Linked DNA regions of Homo sapiens: regions 2 and 3 are each linked to region 1. Evidence: promoter capture Hi-C in human tissues and cell types (Jung and others, 2019). All regions are on one chromosome and are shown on one strand. The core of a region is centred on a gene start or on the middle of the fragment in contact, and the rest is flanking DNA. Distances in the headings are between cores, read along the strand shown.

Region 1 (3,119 bases), core at 59-2,558:
GGCGGGGGCTATCCCCCCCGACTCACCTTGCGTTGGTGCAGTCATTGTAGAGGGTCTCGAAGTCCTTCCTGGAGATGAGTTTGCAGCGGTTCACTCCTGGCTGGATGGCGCCCAGTCCCCTCAGGATGCGAACTTGTTCCACATTGCACACCACCGGCGTGATCTCCAGCCGCTTCAGCTTGGTGTAGACCGTATGCAAGCCCCCCACCAAGTGCTTCAGGAACAGGTCGAAAGCCTGGGGCAGGCAGATCAGCTCGCAGCCCTCCACCGTGAAGGAAGCCACTTTGGCCCCCCTCAGATCCACCATTTTGCACTCATTATTCTGAGGGGTGTTTTCCACTGGGGACGGGGTTGAGTACACGGGTTTCCCGGGGAGGGGGCCGCAGCTGCTGCTGCTACTGCTGCTGCTGCTACTACTGCTGCTGCTGCTGCTGCTGCTACTGCTGCTGCTGCTGCTGCCGGTGCTGGCGTTGATGGGGGTGCTGGAAGCGACGCCGCCGCCAGCGCTGATGCCGCCGCCGCCGCCGCCGCTGCCGTTGCTCGCGGCCGCCAGGTTGGGGTTGCAGTTGCTGCCACCGCCGCCGCCGCCACCGCCGCCTCCGTTGCCGCTGCTGCCGCCGCCGCCTCCGCTGCCGCCGCCGCCGCCGCCGCCGCCGGTAGAGGTGACTGTGGCCGCCGCCGCCGCCGCCGAAGCGATGGGCTCCGGGCGGAACAGAGTTGGCCCAGAGGACGCCGGGGGTCCGATGGAAGGAGCCGGAGACGAAGTCGCCGAAGAGGTGGAGGTGGTGGTGCCAGAGGAGGAAGCAGACGTGGAGATTGGGGGTTGAGGGGGGACCAGCTGGGTCGGAGGGATCAAAGCCGCCGGCACTGCCATGGTCACATATAAGGGGAAACAGACGGAGGAGAAGCGAGAGGAAAAGTTGCCACACACCCCCGGGAGGGGAAGGGGAAAAAAGGGGGGAGAAGGAGCGAGGGGGGCAACAACAACTCCGGGAGAGAACGAGAAGGAGAAAGGGAGAGAAGGGGGAGAAAAGGAGGTGAAGGTAATAAAGAGCGAGCGCAAGAGGGGCGAGCACGAGAGGCGCTCTGGAGAGGAACGCACAAAAGTGTCCCGCAAGTCGAAATGCGAGTCCTCTCCGGGGGCTGGGATCGAGGGCTGGTTTGGGGGTGGGGGTGGGGCGGGGAGGGTCGGCTGTTGTTGTGTGGGTCTCGCTCTAGCACAAAGTTAAGGATGAAGGTGAAAAGGAGGAGGTTTGAAGGACTTGGGCTCTCCCTGGCAAGTACATTGATCAAAGATTGAGAGGGGAATGACAGAGAGAAAATGAGCTGAAAAGTGCAGGCTGCCGGCTGGACGAGTTGTTGTTGTCACACGGTGCAGAGGGGAGGAGCTCCGGAAACTTGAAATACCCTTTGAAGCCGCAAAAACCTCACTCACTAGTATTAACCCAAATTATCCAACCAGGAACTCGGAGCAGAGACTCCGAGAGCGCGAGACACTGGAGAGGGAGCGTGCGAGGAAAGGAGGAGGGGAGGGGGAGGATACGGAAAGAAACTGTGGGAGGGACGGAGAGGAAAAGCCGGGGACACAGAAGTGGCGATCGGAAAAGGAGAGGGAGATCATCTACTTCTCTTCTACTACTACCGTTAGATTGCATGTCTCACATTCCATTTCGTCCGCGGGGACTGGTAATTTTTTCCAAAGCTTCTAAACAATCGCCCGCCAACTTAAAGAGGAGCCTGAGCGCGCCGAGCTCTCTCCTTCCAGGATTTAGGATCCATCTCCACGCGTTTTGGCAATGAGCTAGAAACGAAAACACAGCCCCCACTTCACGATTATTCAGAAATTATTTTGAGGAAAATTCACATGTAAGCAAAGCGTAATGTTCTTTTGCATCTGATTGTTTATTTCTCTACTAAATTATTTATTTATATAAAGATAGTGAAAATTCCAGGACAGTTTTCAAGTGGTGAGAAGAAAGTCAGTCCGAAATCGCTTAAGAATAATGGAAAGCTCTGTATTCAATTCCATATTTCCTAATAGGTTGTGGAAAGAAATGCTTGCCTTGATGTGGATGATTTAGAATAACTTCACTGTCTCCCCAAAAGCCAGTCAGAAATACCTGTTAAACCTAGAGCTATCAAGGAGATAAGGTATCCTTGAAGATTTAGAAAGTGGAAAAAGGGTTTTCTTACCCAAAACTCTATAATTAATTCACCTGTCTTACACAGTAACCAACTATCCTCATGTCCTTTAAGACCCAAAGCCAATTGCTAATGTGTTTTTTGGACAACACAATAGTTTTTTTTTTTTTTTTTTCATGTTTGAAAAGTGCTGCTGTAGTTTTGGAAAGTCCTTTTCAATTTGTCAGTAAATATATGTTTTGTAAATAATGGGAAGAACAAAAACAAAGCTCACTAGTTGACTTGTAAAGACTTGGGTAGCTGTGCTTAAAACAACATGAGGCTGAGTTTAGACTGACTCTATTCCTCCTTTCCTTCCTCTTTCCTTTTCTTTTCTTTTCTAACTTGTTGCACTGAAGTATTTATTCAAGGATTTTTGACTAACATATCATTTGAATATGGGTCAAATCTATTTGCTGCTCATGTCTCCAAGTATCTTCAATTAGTTAGCCTTTGAACCGGTCCACACATGTTCAGTAAGTTCATAAGATATGAAGCAATGCTTTAGCATTTGACAGATTTTTAAAATAAACTGTTAGTAGCAGGTTCACAGGGTTGGGAAATTTTATAATAAAATTTTTGCCATTCTGGTGTTGAAATGATCACATTTCTCTATATCATTTTAAGCCTTTGAACTCTGTGAATCGCAGTGTCAAATAGTGCAGGAACTGTCTACCGAAAAATAGAAATATGACACTATGGACTAATTAGTGTATGATTATACTAAAATTTTTGGGACATAGCAGTTAAATCAGGAGGCTTTCCTGGGAGATAAGAATTCAGAAAATCGATTGTTGCAGAAAAGTCCATGAACTTCTGCAAGGACAACTAAAGTTTAAACAGTTGTTTGGCCTGGTTAACCAATGTATTGTAATACATTCAGAAATAATTTTTATTTATGTTTCAGTCTTCAAATTTGTTATGGGTAAAAGTAGGAA
Region 2 (3,472 bases), core at 480-2,979, 190 kb before region 1:
CACACACACACACACACACACACACACACACGAAGGCGACATTACCACAGAGTCAGAAATTGGAGCCAGGCAGCCACAAAACCAAGAAATGCCTGCAGCTCCCAGAAGCTCAAAGAGGAAAGGACTGGATTCTCCCCTAGAGCCTCCAGAGGGGGTACCCTGCTGACACCATGATTTCAGCCCAGTGATGCTGATTTTGGACTCGCAACCTCCATAACTCTGCAAGTATAAATTGTGGTTTTGCCACTAAGCTTGTGGTAATTTGTTACGGCAGGCACAGGAAACTAATAAATTGCATGATGAAGTCTAAAGTTTAGGTGGGCCTTACAAAAAGGAAAAAAAAAAGAAGACATACCCTTTAATTTTTCTCTTCAAGAAAAGTACAAAGGGAACATGTACTAAGTAGTTATAGGTTAAATGTGCTATCCTCAACAAAATGTCTAGTATCAAACCTCTCAAATATTTCCTAGATATATAAATATATGAAAACACATACAAACGGTGTTCGCAGCCGCCACCGCGCTGCCGTCGCTCTCCAACGCCAGCGCCGCCTCTCGCTCGCCGAGCTCCAGCCGAAGAGAAGGGGGGTAAGTAAGGAGGTCTCTGTACCACGGCTCGTACAAAGCAGACTGCCCGCAAATCGACCGGTGGTAAAGCACCCAGGAAGTAACTGGCTACAAAAGCCGCTCGCAAGAGTGCGCCCTCTACTGGAGGGGTGAAGAAACCTCATCGTAACAGGCCTGGTACTGTGGCGCTCCGTGAAGTTAGACGTTATCAGAAGTCCACTGAACTTCTGATTCGCAGACTTCCCTTCCAGAGTCTGGTGCGAGAAATTGCTCAGTACTTTAAAACAGATCTGCGCTTCCAGAGCGCAGCTATCGGTGCTTTGCAGGAGGCAAGTGAGGCCTATCTGGTTGGCCTTTTTGAAGACACCAACCTGTGTGCTATCCATGCCAAACGTGTAACAATTATGCCAAAAGACATCCAGCTAGCACGCCGCATACGTGGAGAACGTGCTTAAGAATCCACTATGATGGGAAACATTTCATTCTCAAAAAAAAAATTTTTTTTTTTCTCTTCTTCCTGTTATTGGTAGTTCTGAACGTTAGATATTTTTTTTCCATGGGGTCAAAAGGTACCTAAGTCTATGATTGCGAGTGGAAAAATAGGGGACAGAAATCAGGTATTGGCAGTTTTTCCGTTTTCATTTGTGTGTGAATTTTTAATATAAATGTGGAGACGTAAAGCATTAATGCAAGTTAAAATGTTTCAGTGAACAAGTTTCAGCGGTTCAACTTTATAATAATCATAAATAAACCTGTTAAATTTTTCTGGACAATGCCAGCATTTGGATTTTTTTAAAACAAGTAAACTTCTTATTGACGGCAACTAAATGGTGTTTGTAGCATTTTTATCATACAGTAGATTCCATCCATTCACTATACTTTTCTGAGTTGTACTACATGCAAGTACATGTTTTTAATGTTGTCTGTCTTCTGTGCTGTTCCTGTAAGTTTGCTATTAAAATACATTAAACTATAAAAAAAATACAAACATTGTATAAACATCAAGTGTTTAAATAGTAAATATGAGATTTATTCTTTGGGTAAGGCATACAGTAGATTGTTATGTTTAATTTATTAGTGAAGACAATCCAACAATTTGCGGCTGTTTTATACTTGTGCATTTTTGTGTTCTCCTTACTTGTGAGTATCCCAATGAAATACAGAGCATTTATTATAATAAACTTCTCAACATACAAGGCACAATTTTTTTTTTGTTGAGATGGAGTGTTGTTCTCTTGTCCAGACTTGAGTGCAATGGTGTGATCTTGGCTCACTGTAACCTCCTCTTTCCGAGTTCAGGCGATTCTCCTGCCTCAGCCTCCCGAGTAGCTGGAATTACAGGCACCTGCCACCATGCCCAGCTAATTTTTGTATTTTTAGTAGAGATGGGGTTTCACCATGTTGGCCAGGCTGGTCTCGAACTCCTGACCTCAGGTGATCCACCCGCCTCGGCCCCCCAAATTTCTGGGATTACAGGCATGAGCCACGTGCCCAGCCTAGGCACAGTTTTACATTGTAAATTTTCTCCTGAGAAGTTGAAATGTTTAATGCATTTAAACTATTACAAATGCTAATATTACAAAAGAGGTTGTTTAGATATTGTTGCTGTTTACTATTTAGTAGAAAAAAAGAAAATTAAATTTGAAATATGTTTATGAATTCACTACATGAGAACATTTTTCTCTAAATTTTTTTAAAGATAAGAATGTTTCAATGGGATTAATTCTAGATTAATATTGCCCCGGTCCAGTATTTTTTCCAAAACGATAAATTTGCAAGTTATAAATTCTTACCTTTTAAGCATAAGGTATGTGTGTAGAATTGCTTTCTTTACCTGAATACGTATTAGTTATATGTCTACAAGATCACAGTGAGGGAAAAGACATATCCAACAGACAAAACTACAAATCATTCATTCATTTAATTTGAGTGTATTTTTAAGATACTAAATAATTTTTATATGTCAAAGGCAAATACTGAGGACTCAATTAATTCTTAGTATTTTTATGAAAATTGTATTTCAAAATTAATTTGCATACTGACTTAAAGATGAAATCAGAAAGTTGGCAAATACACTATCCAAATTGCATTCCTGGACAAGAGGGGAGTATTTTGAATTCCTAAATAACCCCTTTCTTAATTTTAAATAGACGTCATCTTATAAAAAGTATGAATGTTATTGGAAGTCTGTTGCTAGGATGAATTATTTCAAACTGGTAGTTATTATCAAAAATGATTTATGACAAGTGCTCAGTCAAAATAAATGCAGTGACCACAGCAGGAGGTATTGCCTTGTGTGACTCTACAAAGAACTTTCTTTCTTTCATTAACTTCAACTTCTGGTTGCTATGGCATCCGGTGACAACCATAACTTTTAGAAATTATCACCATCTGCCCACACCCCTTCTAAGGTTACACACAAGCCCACTCAAGCAGCCAAAATAACACATAAAAATTCCACAAGCAATCTCAAAGTTTGTTGTTTTGTTTTGTATTTGTTTTTGTTTTTGTTTCAAGTATAGATACCTAAATACTTAATATTAAGACTGGGAAAATACATTTTTTTTAAAAAAAGTCTTTTTTTTCCTAAGAAAACAAATGCATCCAGGGAAAACTATTATTTAACTCCAATGTTCAATTCTTGAAAAGAAACAATAAAAGTGATTAGGACTGAATCAATAGGTGTTGTTTGTTTGGTTTTTTGTTTTGTTTTGTTTTTGAGACAGAGTCTCACTCTGTTGTCAGGCTGGAGTGCAGTGGTGCGATCTCGGCTCACTGCAAACTTTGCCTCCCGAGTTCAAGCGATTCTCCTGCCTCAGCATCCCAAATACTTGGGATTACAGGCGCCCACCACCATGTCCAGCTAATTTTTGTATTTTTAGTAGAGATGGGGTTTCACCATGTTG
Region 3 (3,197 bases), core at 587-3,086, 220 kb before region 1:
TTCTGTAGCAATTAGGTAATTCCAATACAATGTTTTCATGGATGGATTTGAGATTCTTTTTAACTTTTCCAAAAAATGTTCAAAAGAACATAGAAAAATAGAAATATCTGAACATTTCACATCTAGTCACTCTTTTTTGTCAATGAGTTATGACAGTTCAAATTTATAAGGTGACTTAAACAAAACAAAATTGAAAACACTGCTGTTATCTACAAACATTAATACATCACAATAACCAAAGACTGAACTCCCATGGATTGGTTTAAAAATTACTAACTCAGGCCGGGCGCAGTGGCTCATGGCTGTAATCCCAGCGCTTTGGGAGGCCGAGGCGAGCAGATCACTTGAGGTCAGGAGTTCGAGACCAGCCTGGCCAACACAGTGAAACCCATCTCTACTGAAAAAAATATACAAAAATTAGCCAGACATAGTGGCACGTGCCTGTAATCCCAGCTACTCGGGAGGCTGAGAAAGGAGAATGGCATGAACCTGGGAGGCAGAGGTTGCAGTGAGCAGAGATCGCGCCACTGCACTCCAGCCTGGGAGACAGAGTGAGACTCCATCTCAAAAAAAAAAATTACAAATTCAGTTTAATATTATTATATTTTATTATTGTTACTTTTCTTCTTAAGATGAAGTTATTAAATATCATTTTGATTTATGCAATGTTCACAGTGGCACATAATGTGATTAGAAATTACAATATTCTAATTGTCCCATCCTTTGGAACTCCATTTGTAAAATCAATGGTCATTTTTCTCATGCATTTATTAGATTTCATAATTCAGCCATTTGTAATACCTGGAATATGTGGCATAATGACATGTATGACAGTCCTACAAAGAGTTTCAAAAGCTTTTTGCAATACTCTTACCATACATCTTTCTTATGAGAATTAGAAAATTCAAACATAACTTTATCTTGGAGGTAAAGCCTTTTGAAATATTGCTAAAGTGCATACTGAATAAAGACAACACACTTAAGCGGACTTTCTCCCCTTTAAACAGCATTCATCTTTTCAAAAGCAATAGATTCTCAGTCCACACGGAGTCTGTTGCATTATTCATTTCATGTGCAACCTCATGCTGGACCATAAATTGTTACTTTATCTAATCAAAGGAGACTTAACTCTACAGAAGGTCAAAGGTTTAATTTTGTGAAGTATTATCTTACGCTATGAGTTTAACCGAAAAATAGAAGAAGAAAAACAGCCAAGAAACTGGTAATAAATGAACCTTTATTGCCTCAGGCATTGGCCTAGTTAATAAACTTTCATTGAAGGTTTCTTTCAACTGTTACGGACAATGAGAGGAAAAAAATATTAAATTACAGCCATGTGTGACTTTTAAAGCAGTCATTCTTTTTTATCTCAACCTTCCTAGCTCAGGGAAAGAAGAAAAAAAAAAGACAAAGAGAGATTGTCTTCGATCTCTTAACCAAAAATATATGTTTCTAAACAGATGAAAAAGTGCAGATAAACTTTTCTAAAAGCAGAGGTCAGCTTTGAACAATATTAAAAAAATGCTTTCTTTAGGTGTTGAATCTTAGAAAACAATCTCTCTAGCTCAACGTAAAACTACAAAAGGGAGGAGGGGGACATGTTTTCTTCCCGAAAAGACTAACTCTTAAATTGTAGTCTCCTGCTTAGCACAACATAATGCCTTATAATCTTGTCATTATTGCACAAAGTCAACTGTAGTTTTGATATTAATTAAATGCATTGTAAATAAAACAGTATCTATGTATTATCTGACCTGTTTTAACGCAGAAATCCTTCCTCTGTCATCAGAAATGCTAGTAGCAAAATAATTAATTGATATACAATTAAAATTTTTGAAAGGAACACTTTTATCTTCTTAGCTAATATTCTCAACCAAAAATGAATGGTCTATGTGTAGTTTTTATATCAGTATTTTCTAGAGAAGTAAACGAACTGAGTTCTTCTCAACTACATCCACTTTTTCAGCTGGCACTGTGTTGAGGATGAAAGTTGTCACAGCCTCAATTCCACTTCCACGCCACAGTATAAATAAGGTAGATCCTCCTGTCACCAACAGAGTTCATATAAACTGTGAGACAAGGAAGAAGCAATGTTTTGCATCATACCTCAGATCTTCCGCAAGAAAAGGGGAAAGAGAGCTGGCTCTGTACTAACGGGGCCCTCTCTGCCAGGTTCTATCCACAAATCACAATGCTCTCAGCAGGGCACCCAACCCTATTCCACCTAGCAGCATTTGGACAGAACTGGGGCTCTACTTCATTCCAGGGACATGTCCCCAGGATGCTATCTTGGCCACCTTTGAATCTGAACATGATGGCTGCTTACACCAGCAGCACCAGGTGAAAGCAAGACCAGGCTCCCTACTAAGAAGTGCACTCTGCACAGCTGGAAGGCAATGAGTTCTTCTGGGGTCAAGGATGGAGCAGGTTTATAGCAGCAGCTCTGTTTCTTTTCTGTATTTGCCAAGAATAGTAAAGGAGACTTCTGAGAAGAGACCATCTAACCTGAATCATGAATGGAAAAAAAAAATCAAGTTTTATTCATAGAATATTAAGGATACAAACACGGTGTTTCGAAAAATGTGGTTAAGCCTAGATACCAGAATCCAAAGCAAGTTGGAATAATTGGTTTTCATTAAATTAGTAGAGGGTTTTAGAATCAACGAGCAGGTTTGATTTTACGCAAGAAACCATAAAGTGCTACTCCAAGTTTAGGAGGGGAAGCATTGTCGGAAGAGCAATTGATAAACATGATTCTCCCCCCTCTTTATTTACTGCATAATTTTGACATAGGCATATAACTGGGGAGCTTAAGAAGAAAAAGGTGAAGAAAAATGCAGAAATATCAACTACTTTCTAGAACGAAACACTGTAGTTTAGAATGTACATAAGTGAATGACAAGTTGCATGTATGTGCGTAAACGATTTAGTAATAGCAAGAGTGGTCATGGTTTATAATTTCAATCATCTCATTTACTCTTCTTTAAGAGAAAAAGCCTGAGGTACATTTAGAAGGTGATCTCAAGGTCAGAGAAGCATGGGAGAGTAACAAAAGCAGGTATCTCAAGTCTAATTCTTTGTTCCATTAATCAGATTTTTATGGGCTTGGGAAAGTTGTGCTACAGTACACAGGGAGGATAAGAATAAGGAAAGATCAAGGGAATTCAAAGGATTTATTAAAAGTGCAGACAGTAACT

What was found. The method cuts DNA at HindIII sites, captures the fragments that hold promoters and counts their contacts. A contact is called where the count stands out against the background at its distance.
Region 2: a fragment that was not itself captured here is called in contact with the fragment with the promoter of DACH1 in region 1 in 2 of the 25 tissues and cell types used here (mesenchymal stem cells and spleen).
Region 3: a contact is called between a fragment that was not itself captured here and the fragment with the promoter of DACH1 in region 1, in 1 of the 25 tissues and cell types used here (spleen).

The regions. Positions count from the first base shown.
Region 1 is chr13:71,865,896-71,869,014 of GRCh38, forward strand. DACH1 (dachshund family transcription factor 1) reads right to left here and starts at 1,309. Exons shown (of 11, transcript NM_080759.6): 1 at 27-1,309. The coding sequence starts at 874. The HindIII fragment of the contact is 6,446 bases long and covers 1-2,933 here.
Region 2 is chr13:71,674,454-71,677,925 of GRCh38, forward strand. The region is part of intron 2 of DACH1 (dachshund family transcription factor 1); the gene reads right to left. It also overlaps the pseudogene H3P36. Among named protein-coding and RNA genes, the nearest start is that of DACH1, 190 kb to the right of the region's middle. The HindIII fragment of the contact is 7,632 bases long and covers 1-3,472 here.
Region 3 is chr13:71,642,459-71,645,655 of GRCh38, forward strand. The region is part of intron 2 of DACH1 (dachshund family transcription factor 1); the gene reads right to left. Among named protein-coding and RNA genes, the nearest start is that of DACH1, 220 kb to the right of the region's middle. The HindIII fragment of the contact is 6,494 bases long and covers 1-3,197 here.